Regions from separate parts of the Homo sapiens genome. Here regions 2, 3, 4 and 5 are each linked to region 1. Evidence: promoter capture Hi-C in 16 types of primary human blood cells and fetal thymus (Javierre and others, 2016). All regions are on one chromosome and are shown on one strand. The core of a region is centred on a gene start or on the middle of the fragment in contact, and the rest is flanking DNA. Distances in the headings are between cores, read along the strand shown. Region 1 holds the start of GTF3C6 (general transcription factor IIIC subunit 6). Region 2 overlaps SLC22A16 (solute carrier family 22 member 16). Region 3 overlaps LOC105377939 (a long non-coding RNA gene). Region 4 overlaps LOC105377941 (a long non-coding RNA gene). Region 5 overlaps SLC16A10 (solute carrier family 16 member 10).

Region 1 (2,608 bases), core at 63-2,562:
ACCCTGTCACAAAAAAGAAAGGAAAGAAAGAGAGAAAGAAAGAAACAAACAATGAATAAAAGAAAGAGAGAAAGAGCATCATACTAAAAAATTTATATATTACTACTAATAATAGATTAAATGCACTTTAAATGCTTACTATGTGCTGAATACTGGGCTAAATTTATTTTATATGTATTGTCTCATTTAATCCTCACAACCACCAATCTGCCCAAAGCCTTGCTGTTAATAATGCAGCAGAACTTGACTGGTATTAAAATCCAAAGCTCAGGCTGGGGACGGTGGCTCACACCTGTAATCCCAGCATTTTGGGAGGCCCAGGCAGGGGGATCGCCTGAGGTCGGGAGTTCGAGACCAGCCTGACCAACATGGAGAAACCCCGTCTCTACTAAAAATAACAGAATTCGCCGGGCGTGGTGGCGCATGCCTATAATCCCAGCTACTCGGGAGGCTGAGGCAGGAGAATCGCTTGAACCCGGGAGGTGGAGGCTGCAGTGAGCCGAGATTGCACCATTGCACTCCAGCCTGGGTAACAAGAGCAAAACTCCATCTCCAAATAAATAAATAAATAAAAATCCAAAACTCACGATCTTAACCACTAGATCACGCTATCGCAAGTACGAAGACCGTTTCTTTCACAATCACAAACATCTATGGGATACTTCTGAAAATTCTGTTCAAACTTCTCTTGCCCAGGTCTCTGTGTTCCTATAACAATGTGTATCTCTTACAGCACTTGCTTGGATCCATTTATGTACCTCTCACAGATCTTATGCTCCTGCAGGCCTGAAACTTAAGCCCACTTTCTATTTTTCATAGCTCCTGGTGCAGTGCTTTTTACTGTGTAGGCGCTCATTAGTATTAAACTGAATGTGCCTTTAACTTGGCTTGGGGTACGTTGAATTGAGGATGAGCGCTCACACAATATTAAGAATTTCTTTCCAAGAAATGTGCTCGGGTCAAACACAAGGCCTTTCTGTCCATGATCCGCCTGAAACCATGGTTTCCTTGTTTTCGCCTTTATCCCTTCTGCCTTGCCAGTCCTCCCCGCCAGCGGGGCCGAGAGCCCGGCGACTCTTGCGTGACCGAGCGGGCTCCGCTGCCTACGGCAGCCCACCCCCAGCCCCTGCTCTGAGGCACCGAGAAACGAGGAGGCCCGTGGCGAGTCTCCACGTGGGTACCGGCGCTCTCGGCGCCCGTAGCCACCCGCCCGCCGGAAGCCGACATCTCGAGTTCTGGCAGAAGCAATTTGCGCGGCGAGGAGCGGAGCGGCAGGAACCCAATAAGCTGCTTCGCCTCGGAGCTGAAGCCCGTACTCAAGATGGCGGCTCCGGGCGGGCGTGGCCAGTGACTAGAAGGCGAGGCGCCGCGGGACCATGGCGGCGGCGGCGGACGAGCGGAGTCCAGAGGACGGAGAAGACGAGGAAGAGGAGGTAGTAAGCGCTACGCCAAAAGCCTGCACCGCAGTGGCGGTGATGCCTGTGCTGGCTGTGTGTGGGGAAGGGAGTTGGGGAGCTGCGGGCCGGAGGGAGGCCCCACTGCTCCTCACCGGCTTCTTGCTCCTGGGCGCGAGGAGCCGGGCAGCTTGGGACCTTAGCCCTAATCGTCACCCCGTACTTGGGATGGGAAGTACCGGGAAGTTACCTTAGGTAGCGTAGTTTCCTCTTGCTGAAAACAGGGTCCGGTTTTCACAAATGTGGGAAATTTGGCTTCTTTTGCTAATTGCTCCCTCTTGGCCGCTCGCGTGCTAGCATGTTAACCCCTCTTTCTTTCACCAGGAGCAGTTGGTTCTGGTGGAATTATCAGGAATTATTGATTCAGACTTCCTCTCAAAATGTGAAAATAAATGCAAGGTTTTGGTGAGTTTTCTAGACTTGGGGGGATTGTTCTAGAGTGTCTTAAATGTAAAACAAGAATCAATGGTGAAATACCTATCCGCAAGTATTGATATATTTATTTCACCTTACAAAGTAGTGAACTCTAAGGATAAGAAGTATACTAAGTATAATTAATTAATATGTAATTAAGTATAATGTAGAAGTACAGCGGGGACTATGGGAGCAGATAGGAGAAAATGGCTAACTTTGCTTGCCTGTTTGAATGTGTGGCTGAAGAGAAAGTTACAGATTTGGAGGAAGTAACATTGTGATATGGAACCGTACATATATTCCTGTATTCTCAGCACTTTGGGAGGCAGAGGTGGGAGGATCACTTGAGCCCAGGAATTGGAGACCATCCTAGGCAACATAACGAGACCCCTTCTCTAAAATAATAATAAAAAAAAATGGCCAGGCGCGGTGGCTCACGCCTGTAATCCCAATACTGGGAGGCCGAGGCGGGTAGATCACGAGCCCAGGAGTTCGAGACCAGCCTGGCCAACATGGTGTAACCCCGTCTCTACTGAAATACAAAAATTAGCCAGGCATGGTGGTGGGCGCCTGTAATCCCAGCTACTCGGGAGGCCGAGACAGGAGAATCGCGTGATCCCTGGAGGCAGAGGTTGCAGTGAGCCGAGATCGCGCCACTGTACTCCAGCCTGGGCAACAAAGGGCAAAACTCCATCTCAATAAAAAAAAAAAATAATAATAATAATAAATTAGCTGGGGAT
Region 2 (2,608 bases), core at 1-2,500, 490 kb before region 1:
TTTGGGTTTGTTCCCTAACTAGTCTCTACCTGGAACAGCTCCACCACTGAAAAGCTCAGGTTCTGAGCATGACCTCCCACCCTCTTACTTCCCCCATCCTTCCCACTGACCCCATTTCCAGCACCATTCAGGCGTCCAGTCTTCAGATCCTACCAGCTTCTTCAGTTAGTTTCTACCTTCCTGGCCTCAGTTTTTTTCTTCCTCAGCCAGTGACCCCCACAGTCATCACCACATCACCAGAACTATTCTCTCTCTCTCTTCCCCTCTCCTTCTCTCTTTGTGTCTTTTTCTCTTGTGCACACACACACATACACCAACACAGCACCCACCCTGGCAGGCCTCTGAAGCTAGGATTTGTCTTTTCTGTCCCCCTCTTAGCAATCGTGATTCAGGAGGTCTAAGGTGGGGTCAAGGCCCCTACAAGCTTAAGAAGCTTCTTAGGAGATGCTGATACGGATGAAAACATTGCCCCAGGATATCTAGTTTTCTGGTTAAACTATGTACTGGTACAAGGTTTGACATTCAAAATACTGGACAATTGTTGTGGAGCAACTGAAAAACCAATAAACAGCTTGTGAGGGTGACATTTGTTATAACCATTTTGCAAAACTCTCTGGCAGGGGACCACATGCACCGCCTGTGACAGCATCTCCTAGGTATCTACCCAGCGAAATGCATACACAGGTAGAGCCACATGCCACAAAACGACGTTTCGGTCAATGATGAACCACATATACAACAGTGGTCCCATAAGATTATAATATTAATATCATATTTTTACCACACCCTTTCCATGTTTAGGTACACAAATACTTCCCATTGTGTTACAATTGCCTACAGTATTCAGTACAATAACATGCTGTGCAGGTTTGTAGTCTAGGAGCAGTGGGCTATACCATAGAGCCTAAATGTGTAGCAGGCTGTACCATCTAGGCTTGTGTAAATAAAATCTGTGATGTTTGCAGAACAACAAAATCACCTAACGATGAACTTCTCAGAAGTATCTCTGTCGTTAAGCAAAATATAACCCTACCCTAAAAGACAAATGCAAGAAAGGCAACTCATATAAGCCCAACCTGGACACAGTCTAAACGTCTGTTGACAGTAAATGAATGAACCGTGAAATATTTGTGCCATTAAATACTATGTAGCTGTGAAAATCGACTAACCTCTGTGACACACAATATGGGTGGATCTCACAAACACAGTGTGGAACAAAAGAAGCCAAAGGGCAAGTGCCTTTTACCCCACTTATGTAACATTTAGTATCGTTGATGTAAGGACAGTAGTGAGCTTGGGGGACAGGGACGGAGTAGGGCTTGGGAGAAGGCATAAGAGGAGATGATTTGGGTGGGGGTAACACAGGTGTGTTCACTGTATGACAACTCATCAGGCTGTAGATTATGGTGGACACTTTTCTGCATATATGTAATATATCAATTTAAAAGTTTTCTATCTACAGCGCCCAGGGAGAGGGAAAACTATTCAGCAACACCCCTGCTGAGGCACAGCTGGAACAGGTGCCAGGCATGCCTAATCTGTCCACAAGGCACTGGTCCAGCTGGACTGCAGCCCTGGGTGGCCACCTGATCCATATTGACAAGGGGGCATTTTCCCTGAGCAACAGATTATCTACCCAACTTCCCACTTGATGTCTCCACCTGGAATTCCCACAAGGAACTCAAGGTAAACCAATCTCAAACTGAGCTCGATATCTAGGCCTGCCCCGCCTGGAGGGTAACTTTCTGAGTTTAGGCTACCATCACCCACACAAACTAGAAATCCAGGGCATGGGACATGGGGTGGGCTAGGAGGGGCATGTGGTCCCATTCACTTCTCCTTCATGCCTTAGGGCCAAGAGCTCCCATCAACTCCACCTGCTAAAACTGTCTGGTTCTCCCTGCCCACACTCCCACTCTCCAGACCCTCTTTCTCTCTCACCTGGGCTCTTATCTAGGTCTTCACTGGCCCCCTTGCCCCACTCGCTGCCCCTCCAATCCACCCTCTGCACTGCAAAACCCAAACTTCTGATACCCAAACTTTGCAAAAACACTCATGGAGATGACTGTAAGCTTACCTCCTGCCTCTCTCACTCTCATATTTTATACCCCCAAAATAATAAACCACTAAGTGGCCCCCAATCAAGCCATGCTAGTTCACATAAACACACTTTCCATGTGCTAGAAAGGTCCTAAGCACTCCTTCAATTCAAATTTCCCTTTCCCTTTTGCAAGAATAACCTCTTGAAAAAAAACCAAGCCCCATTTCCTTAGGCGTCTAGCATTCTAACACATCACTCTCTCTTTTACAAAGATTCTTGGCCCTCAGAGGTGTCATGCATGTACCCAACCTAGGGGTCCACCAGGACAACAGGCTTATAGATATGACACTCTAATGGAAAAATAATCACACAAACACAATCGGCAGAAAACCCAGAGGCGAGGAAAAGCAAGGGCGGCCAGAAGCCCCAGGGAATGGACCCATGCAATCTGAGTGACGGATGAAGAAAACTGCTTTCAGTCCTAGATTATACCATTCCATATAAAAGCATAACTGGTGGAGTCCATCATGGCTAAGAGCATGGACTCTGGAGCCAGACTGCCAAGGT
Region 3 (2,608 bases), core at 82-2,581, 410 kb before region 1:
CGAACATGTATTATTTGCAGAGTAAAAAGAATAGAAAATAACCAAATGTCAAGACTGCAACTGGGGTGGAGCCAAGCTGCTGCGGATGTTGCCAAGGGCCCTTCCCGGGAGAGCCAGGTGGGGTACCCACATGCCACCTTCTCCTCAGGTGGAGCCACCGCCTGTGGCCTCCTGTGGGGCCAGCCTGGACTGCAGCTGCCAGGACCTAGTGATGGCCCCAAACCTGAGAGTGGGCCCAGAGTCCCACCCCGCTAACCATGCTGAAAAAGGCCACAGGGCACATGAAGCCTTTGCTCCCTGGATCAGGTCACGCTCTCCAGTTTTCCTTCCAGGAGGACAGGCCATGCACTAAAAAACAGCTGCAGAGGAAAGGCTGGACCAGGTGTGCTGGGAGTCACCAGGAGCAAGGTGGTGAAGGTGAGTTTTCTCCTGAGCCCCTCCTGGGACTCATTAGCACCTCACCATCTGCTGGGAACCATCTTTACAAATGTAATTGTGCCTGTTGGGGGAAGACAGGTTTTTTGTTCTTTTGTTTTGTTTTTTTTTGTTTGTTTGTTTTCTTAAAGACAGAAAAGGCTTTTTCATTTTCTGAAGCCCTTTCAAATGTGCTCAACCTTATCCAGAGGGTAGCAGATCTGTTAATTACATCTTGGGCGGGTCCAAAATTTTACCACTGTTTTCAGGTATTAACCCTCAGTCCACTTTAAAACATTAATTCCAAACGATTCTACTCTCACCTCATCTCCCAGCGCCACTGCCCTCTCCCGGTCCAGTGCAAGCTTGGACCTGGACCCTGAATGAGGGAGGTCTATTTCTGGGACACTCCTCCACTCTCGCTTTCCGCTTTGGGAAATAGTTCCTCTAGTGCGCTGGGCTGAGAGGTAGGACAGAGAAAGGGCAGAGGGTCGTAAACTAACAGGGCAGCGGTAGCCTTCTCTCTAGTGGTAGCCTTCTCTCTAGTGGTAGCCTTCTCTCTAGCGGTGTCCCACTGGGACTGGCTGTGAGGCAGGCATCGACGTGCTAGCCTTCTCTGGAAGACACATCTGGGTTCTTTTAGAGAGACTTGCAGGGCACGGATATGGTAAATCCAGGCTCAACCACCTCCATGCCCCTCAACTCCCATGACTGGATATGTACTCTACGGACTCTTTGAGCTCCCCGGTAAATAGGAGAGAGAACCCTGTTGGGGTAGGGATGGAACAAATCCAGCTGCCTTCTAAGTAGCATCCACTTGAACTGCAGGAAATGCGTTTTCTGGCCCTGACCAACTGGGTGAGTTCAGACTGCCCCTGCAGCTCTTCTTTGTGCCCTTTCTTCTTTCTCCAAGACCCTCCTCTATCCCTAATGATGTATGAATAAGCCAGCAAATCCTTTTCCTAATCAAATGTCCAACAGGGGAGCTACTTTACATTCCAATATTTGTGGAATCATTTTATTAGAACCTTACTAGGGAGGAAAGCACAGCCACCCCATTTCCCATAACCACAGGAAGGGCAGGAAGTCCCCTCTCCTCACACGTCCTGTGCTCCAGTGACCCTTAGACTTATTTCTCTCTCTCCCTCCTTCCCAGTCTTACTGGGTAGAAGGTGGAGTTGGCGGTAACACAGCCACATATGTCACCTCTTAGGAATCCTTGGTTCTCAGCTCTGGTGGGTGTCAGCTCAGGCAAAGAGTACTTCTCTGTCCTCACTTTTGGGTCCTGGAAGCCTCCACAGAAAGACTCCCCATTCATAGCTTGTTGCATGTTTAGAGTAGTTGAAGTTCCACTTCCAGAACTCTTCATTCTTTTTGTAGAGCCAGAATTTTATCTGGTATCATTGTCCTTCTGCTTGAAGGACATCCCTTAACATTTCTTATAGTATAGGTCCTCAGAGGATCATTTTTTAAGCTTTTGTATGTTTGAAAAAGTATTTTGCATTTGTTTTTGAAAGACATTTTTGCTGGGTATAGAATTAGTGGCCATTTCATGTGAAAGACAAAAAAAAAAAAACACCCAAAAACCTAGAATTCTAGGTTGACAATATTTTTCTCTGATTACTTTAAAGATTATTGTTCCTCTGTCTTCTCACTTGCTTGCTTCTGACATGAACTCTGCTGCCATTCTTATCTTTGTTCTCCTGTTTCTAACATAATTTTTTTCCTGTTGTTAATTTTAAGATTTTCTCTTTATCACTGGTATTGAGCAATTTGATTATGATGTGTCTTGTTATAATTTCCTTCATGTTTCTCTTGCTTGAATTTTATCTTGCTGAGTGCTGGATATTCTTTTTCTTTTTATTTTTTTGAGACGGAGTCTCACTTTGTCTCCCAGGCTGGAGTTCAGTGGCGTAATCTCAGCTCAGTATAACCTCTTCCTCCCAGGTTCAAACGATTCTCCTGCCTCAGCCTCCTGAGTAACTGGGACTACAGCACCTCCCCCACCACACCTGGCTAATTTTTGTATTTTTAGAAGACACAGAGTTTCACCATGTTTGAGGCCAGTCTGGTCTCAAAATCCTAACCTCAAGTGATCCACCTTCCTCGGTCTCCCAAAGTGCTGGGATTATAGGTGTGAGCCACCATGCCTGGCCTGGATATTCTTTAAAAAACAAACAAACACACAAAAAAA
Region 4 (2,608 bases), core at 30-2,529, 370 kb before region 1:
TTGTCTTTAAAATCCTTTGTCATTCTGGTACTGTCCCATAATGATCTGTGATCCTAGTTAATGAAGTGTTTTGATATTTTTGACAAACTTTCCAAACCAAGCCTTTGATATTGATAAAAATCAAACCTTTAACATTGCTATTAATATTGACAAACATTTTGGTATTTTTGACAAACTTTCCAAAATCAAATTCTTAAAATTAAGCCTTTTTTACCCCACATTGACTTTGGAACCTCCCAGGGGCCCTGGAAGGTCTTCTTATAAAAGAGAAATGTTAAGCTAATTAGGCTTAATTGATACATTAAATTTGCAGAATAAACATTGTCAAATAAGCAATCATGATTGAGTGTTTACGTGTTCCAGAAATTATGTGAAATTCCGAGAAGTCTGATATGTCCTGGCATAATGTTATCAGTCATAATTCTGGTTATTATGTTAAAATGTTGTATGTCACAGAAATAATGATTTTACCTGTCAGTTGTGTCATTATCATAATAAACTCTCATTAGATCTTTAACCATGACCTTTTTTTTTTTTTTTTTTCAGATGGAATCTCACTCTCTCGCCCAGGCTGGAGTGCAGTGGCGCCATCTCAGCTCACTGCAGTAGCTGGGACTACAGGCGCCCGCCACCACACTCGGCTAATTTTCTGTATTTTTAGTAGAGACGGGGTTTCACCATGTTAGCCAGGATGGTCTCAATCTCCTGACCTCGTGATCTGCCCGCCTCGGCCCCCAGAGTGCTGGGATTACAGGTGTGAGCCACCGCAACCATGACCATTTTAAGTCTTGTCATCCATAGACAGTAAATTGTTTCACTCTGATGCTCTCCTGAAAGGTTTTGCAAGCAGCTATAATCCTAAAATAGTGTATCTCTAAGGATAAGAACTTCCAGAACTCTAAGTTCTTACACAGTCCAATAGTATATTCCTATGTTACCGGAAACCTGTACTTGTCAGAGTTCTTTCCATAAATTTCCTAGGAATATACTATTGGACTGAGTAAGAACTTCCAGAACTCTAGTGGCCGGGTGTGGTGGCTCATACCTGTCATCCCAGCACTCTGGGAGGCCGAGGCAGGTGAATCACAAGGTCAGGAGTTCGAGATCAGCCTGGCCAACATGGTGAAACCCTGTCTCCACTAAAAATACAAAAAAAAAAATTAGCTGGGCGTGGTGGTGGGCGCCTGTAATCCCAGCTACTTGGGAGGCTGAGGCAGGAGAATCGCTTGAACCCGGGAGGCGGAGGTTGCAGTGAGCCAAGATTGCACCACTGCACTCCAGCCTGGGCAACAGTGTGAGACTCTGTCTCAAAAAAAAAAAAAAAAAAAAAAAAAAAGAACTTCCAGAACTCTTATGAAGAAACAAATTGGTTCATAAGTTGCTAGCCCAACATCAAGCAAAATGAGAATTAATTATGTGGAACTAAATGAACTGATGAAAAAGAATCAGGCTGGGTGCAGTGACTCATGCCTGTAATCCCAGCATTTTGGGAGGCTGAGGCAGGCAGATCACTTGAGCCGAGGAGTTCAAGACCAGCCTGGCCAACACAGCAAAACCCTGTCTCTACTAAAAATACAAAAAATTAGCTGGGAATGCTAGTACATGCCTGTAATCCCAGTTACTCAGGAGGCTGAGGCATAAGAACCACTTAAATCCTGAAGGCGGAGGTTGCAGTGAGCCACGATTGTGCCACTGCACTCCAGCCTGGGTGACAGGGCAAGACTGTCTCAAAAAGAGAGAGAGAGAGAAATAATTCAGTTTTTGTTTTGTTTTGTTTTTGTTTTAGAGACATGTTGCCCAAGCTGGCTCGACTCAAACTCCTCGGCTCAAGCAGTCTTTCCATCTCAGCCTCCTGAGTAGCTGGGACTACAGGCATATGCCACCACATCCAGCAGTAATTTTTTAAAATTATCTTTTGCATATTTGTATTTCAGATTTAAGGGATTTTTAAAATCTATCTATAGTTTACAAGAATTTGGTAAATTATACCTTTGTAACATAATTGAAACAATCCCTTTTTTCTCCCTACTTGATCTCTCCATAATTCAGAAACTGTTAGTGAGAAAGGGTTGTGCTCTGTCGCCCAGGACAGAGTACAGTGCCATCATCATGGCCTCCTGCAGCGTTGACCTCCCAAGCTCAAGTGATCCTCTTACCTCAGCCCCAGGTAGATGGGACTACAGGCATGTAACATGATACCCAGCTGATTTGTTTGTTTTTTGTAGAGACAGGGTCTCACTATGTTGCCCAGGCTGGTCTTGAACTCCTGGGCTCAAGAAATCCTCCCACTGAGTGTAAACTAGTTCAACCATTGTGGAAGACAGTGTGGCAATTCCTCAAAGATCTAGAACTAGAAATACCATTTGACCCAGCCATCCCATTACTGAGTATATACCCAAAGGATTATAAATCATGCTACTATAAAGACACATGCACATGCATGTTTATTGCGGTACTGTTCACAATAGCAAAAACTTGGAACCAACCCAAATGTCCATCAATGATAGACTGGATTAAGAAAATGTGGCACATATACACCATGAAATACTATGTAGCCATAAAAAAGGATGAGTTCATGTCCTTTGCAGGGACATGGATGAAGCTGGAA
Region 5 (2,608 bases), core at 29-2,528, 270 kb after region 1:
TGACAAAGAAAAACCTGAAGAAATTCAGAATCTAGATACACTTAGATTCTAAATTAGACACACTCAGATTCTAATGAACACTTAGAATGCTTCGCCAGTGGCTTTTCAAGTTACACTGGAAGCTTGATTATGAAAAAGTTTTGTTTTCATTGGCAAGAGGGTAGATGATCAGTGATGACAGATTGTACAGCTGTGCCCAAACCTGACAACTTACACATTAAACTCCTGTAAGAGACACTCCTTCCTAGTAGAACAAGGACTGGGACAATGAATTTTTGACTCACTGGAGTTTTTTAAAATGCTGTTCTTGAGTGTGGCAATAGTGTAGGAGTTAACCCAGTCTACCCAAAGAAGTTGCTTTGCCTTTCAATATGAGTGCTATAAAAAGAGTATTTTGGAGTTCAATGTCCCTAAACATGTATGCGATAGGAACTACCAATATAAAATAACACTTAGAACTCAAATTAGATTGGTAATACTATTTTGGAGCCTGTGATGTATGACTTTTATTCTTTACTAGATATTTTTCAGTATCCGTCATTAGAAGAGTCAGTTTGTTAAATATTTTAAATGTGTAAACACAAAACCTTTCTACTGTGATCTTCCCTAATGAGTCAAAGTATCTTTCATAATTCAGTCTATATTGAAATGTTATTTCAGGAATGGAGGGTTTGTTATTAATAGTGCTGGGCCGGGCACGGTGACTCATGCCTGTAATCCCAGCACTTTGGGAGGCCGAGACAGGCGAATCACCTGAGGTCAGATGTTGGAGACCAGCCTGACCAACATGGAGAAACCCCATCTCTACCAAAAATACAAAATTAGCCGGGCGTGGTGGCTCCATGCTGTAATCCCAGCTACTCGGGAGGCTGAGGCAGGAGAATTGCTTGAACCCAGGAGGTGGAGGTTGCAGTGAGCCAAGATTGCACCATAGCACTCCAGCCTGGGCAACAAGAGCAAAACTCTGTCTCAAAAAAAAAAAAAAAAAAAATAGTGCTGCATTTTGACCCTGGACTATGAACAGACTGTATAGTTGGTGCCTCTTTTTTTTCTACCAAAGATTATTAGATCAAGATTGGTGCTATACTTCATGTTCCTTTCAAAATTATTTTTCTTTTAAAAATATTAATATACAACACAATAGAAAATGTATACAGCCAGCAACGTTATGCATGTTGCATGTTATATACATGACTGAGGAAAAAAGCTCACCTATACAGTGATTATTGAGTTCCAGTATCTAGTTAGAGGTATGCAATTTTTGTTAACATATAAGACTTTAAATTACGAAACTCACAAGAAAATGATCACCAAATGAGAATGTTCTAATGAACACAACCTCCCAAGGTAATAATTTTAAAGAAAAAGTCCCTTGTCAATGTTTCTAGCACAAAGTGAGGGATTTAAATATATTCTGTAACTTTGAGGCAATGTGAAAAAGTTATATATAATAGCTTCCTATTGAGCTGGCTTATGTAGACATTTGGACATTTGAAACTATTTCGCAACTTTCAGGCTAAAATCAGAGTTTTGAGAGTCATCAATCTTAAAACATGGATAATGAGTTATTTGCACAGTTATATTTTTATAATTATTTGAAATTTATCACTGAAAGTATCATTGTTTGTCTTTCAGATTTAACATAAACAATAAGTACTGCGGCTGGGTCACTGTCAGCAAATCTCAGGTCTATGATTTATCAAGGGCTCTCAGCACCATCGTTGGTCTGATTGTGTAACACCTAAGTAAAATAACATATGGGTCTCCTTGGCCAGGCGCCGTGGCTCACACCTGTAATCCCAGCACTTTGGGAGGCCAAGGCAGGCGGATTGCTTGAGGCCAGGAGTTCGAGACATACGGGTCTCTTTAATGTTCTGTAGGTAGGATTCAGATGAATTGAGAATGACAGGTTTCTTTTTCTTTCTTTGTTTCTTTTTTTTTTTTTTTTTTGAGATGGAGTCTTGCTCTATTGCCAGGCTCCATATAGTGGCGCGATCTCAGCTCACTGCAACCTCCGCCTCCCGGGCTCAAGTGATTCTCGTGCCTCAGTCTTCTGAGTAGCTGGGACTACAGGTGCCCACTACCACACCGGCTAATTTTTGTATTTTTGGTAGAGATGGAGTTTCACCATGTTGGCCAGACTGGCCTTAAGTGATCCACCTGCCTCAGCCTCCCCAAGTGCTGGAATTACAGGCATGAGCCACCATGCCCGGCTAGAGAATGACAGGTTTCAGTTGAATTCTTCTCTTTTAAAAGACCCTGACTTAACTGTATTTTATGAGGATTTTATAAATGTAAATTAAGAAGACAATACACACTCTCATTTTCCTAATTAGAAAGACTATGCATTCACAATCCAGTACACTGGATTTGCTCTGGTAACTAATGATAACACTTTTCTACGTTAACATGAGTTATATTTGGCAGAGAGAATGGAAGCTTGCTAATCAGAAGTTACATTAGGGTGAGATTAAACATCACTCTAATAATAACTTCTGATGTAACTTAATGTGGTTTGAGATGTGTAAGATTGTAGAGGCATTGCACAATGCTTGATAAAAGTTGCATTTTGCTTTTGTTCTTCCACCAGTTTATTTTAGCCTTAAAG

The links. Contacts are between HindIII fragments. The CHiCAGO score rates a contact against its expected background, and 5 or more counts as called.
Region 2: a contact is called between a fragment that was not itself captured here and the fragment with the promoter of GTF3C6 in region 1, in 5 of 17 cell types (M2 macrophages, M1 macrophages, M0 macrophages and 2 more). The highest score is 14.3, in M2 macrophages.
Region 3: a fragment that was not itself captured here is called in contact with the fragment with the promoter of GTF3C6 in region 1 in 6 of 17 cell types (erythroblasts, M1 macrophages, fetal thymus and 3 more); the score reaches 7.0 in erythroblasts.
Region 4: a fragment that was not itself captured here is called in contact with the fragment with the promoter of GTF3C6 in region 1 in 1 of 17 cell types (M2 macrophages); the score reaches 5.3 in M2 macrophages.
Region 5: a contact is called between a fragment that was not itself captured here and the fragment with the promoter of GTF3C6 in region 1, in 1 of 17 cell types (M2 macrophages). The highest score is 5.8, in M2 macrophages.

Annotation. Positions count from the first base shown.
Region 1 is chr6:110,957,394-110,960,001 of GRCh38, forward strand. It overlaps GTF3C6 (general transcription factor IIIC subunit 6), which reads left to right and starts at 1,313. Exons shown (of 6, transcript NM_138408.4): 1 at 1,313-1,433; 2 at 1,779-1,859. The coding sequence starts at 1,377. RefSeq lists an enhancer at 1,186-1,635. The HindIII fragment of the contact is 8,604 bases long and covers 1-2,608 here.
Region 2 is chr6:110,470,392-110,472,999 of GRCh38, forward strand. The region is part of intron 1 of SLC22A16 (solute carrier family 22 member 16); the gene reads right to left. Among named protein-coding and RNA genes, the nearest start is that of SLC22A16, 4.9 kb to the right of the region's middle. The HindIII fragment of the contact is 1,639 bases long and covers 432-2,070 here.
Region 3 is chr6:110,550,296-110,552,903 of GRCh38, forward strand. It overlaps LOC105377939 (a long non-coding RNA gene), which reads left to right. Exons shown (of 3, transcript XR_942862.3): 2 at 21-417. Among named protein-coding and RNA genes, the nearest start is that of SLC22A16, 75 kb to the left of the region's middle. The HindIII fragment of the contact is 1,109 bases long and covers 778-1,886 here.
Region 4 is chr6:110,582,453-110,585,060 of GRCh38, forward strand. The region is part of intron 1 of LOC105377941 (a long non-coding RNA gene); the gene reads left to right. Among named protein-coding and RNA genes, the nearest start is that of SLC22A16, 110 kb to the left of the region's middle. The HindIII fragment of the contact is 4,551 bases long and covers 1-2,608 here.
Region 5 is chr6:111,228,059-111,230,666 of GRCh38, forward strand. SLC16A10 (solute carrier family 16 member 10) reads left to right here. Exons shown (of 6, transcript NM_018593.5): 6 at 1-2,608. All of the region lies in intron 2 of SLC60A2-DT (SLC60A2 divergent transcript), which reads right to left. Among named protein-coding and RNA genes, the nearest start is that of SLC60A2-DT, 30 kb to the right of the region's middle. The HindIII fragment of the contact is 2,317 bases long and covers 121-2,437 here.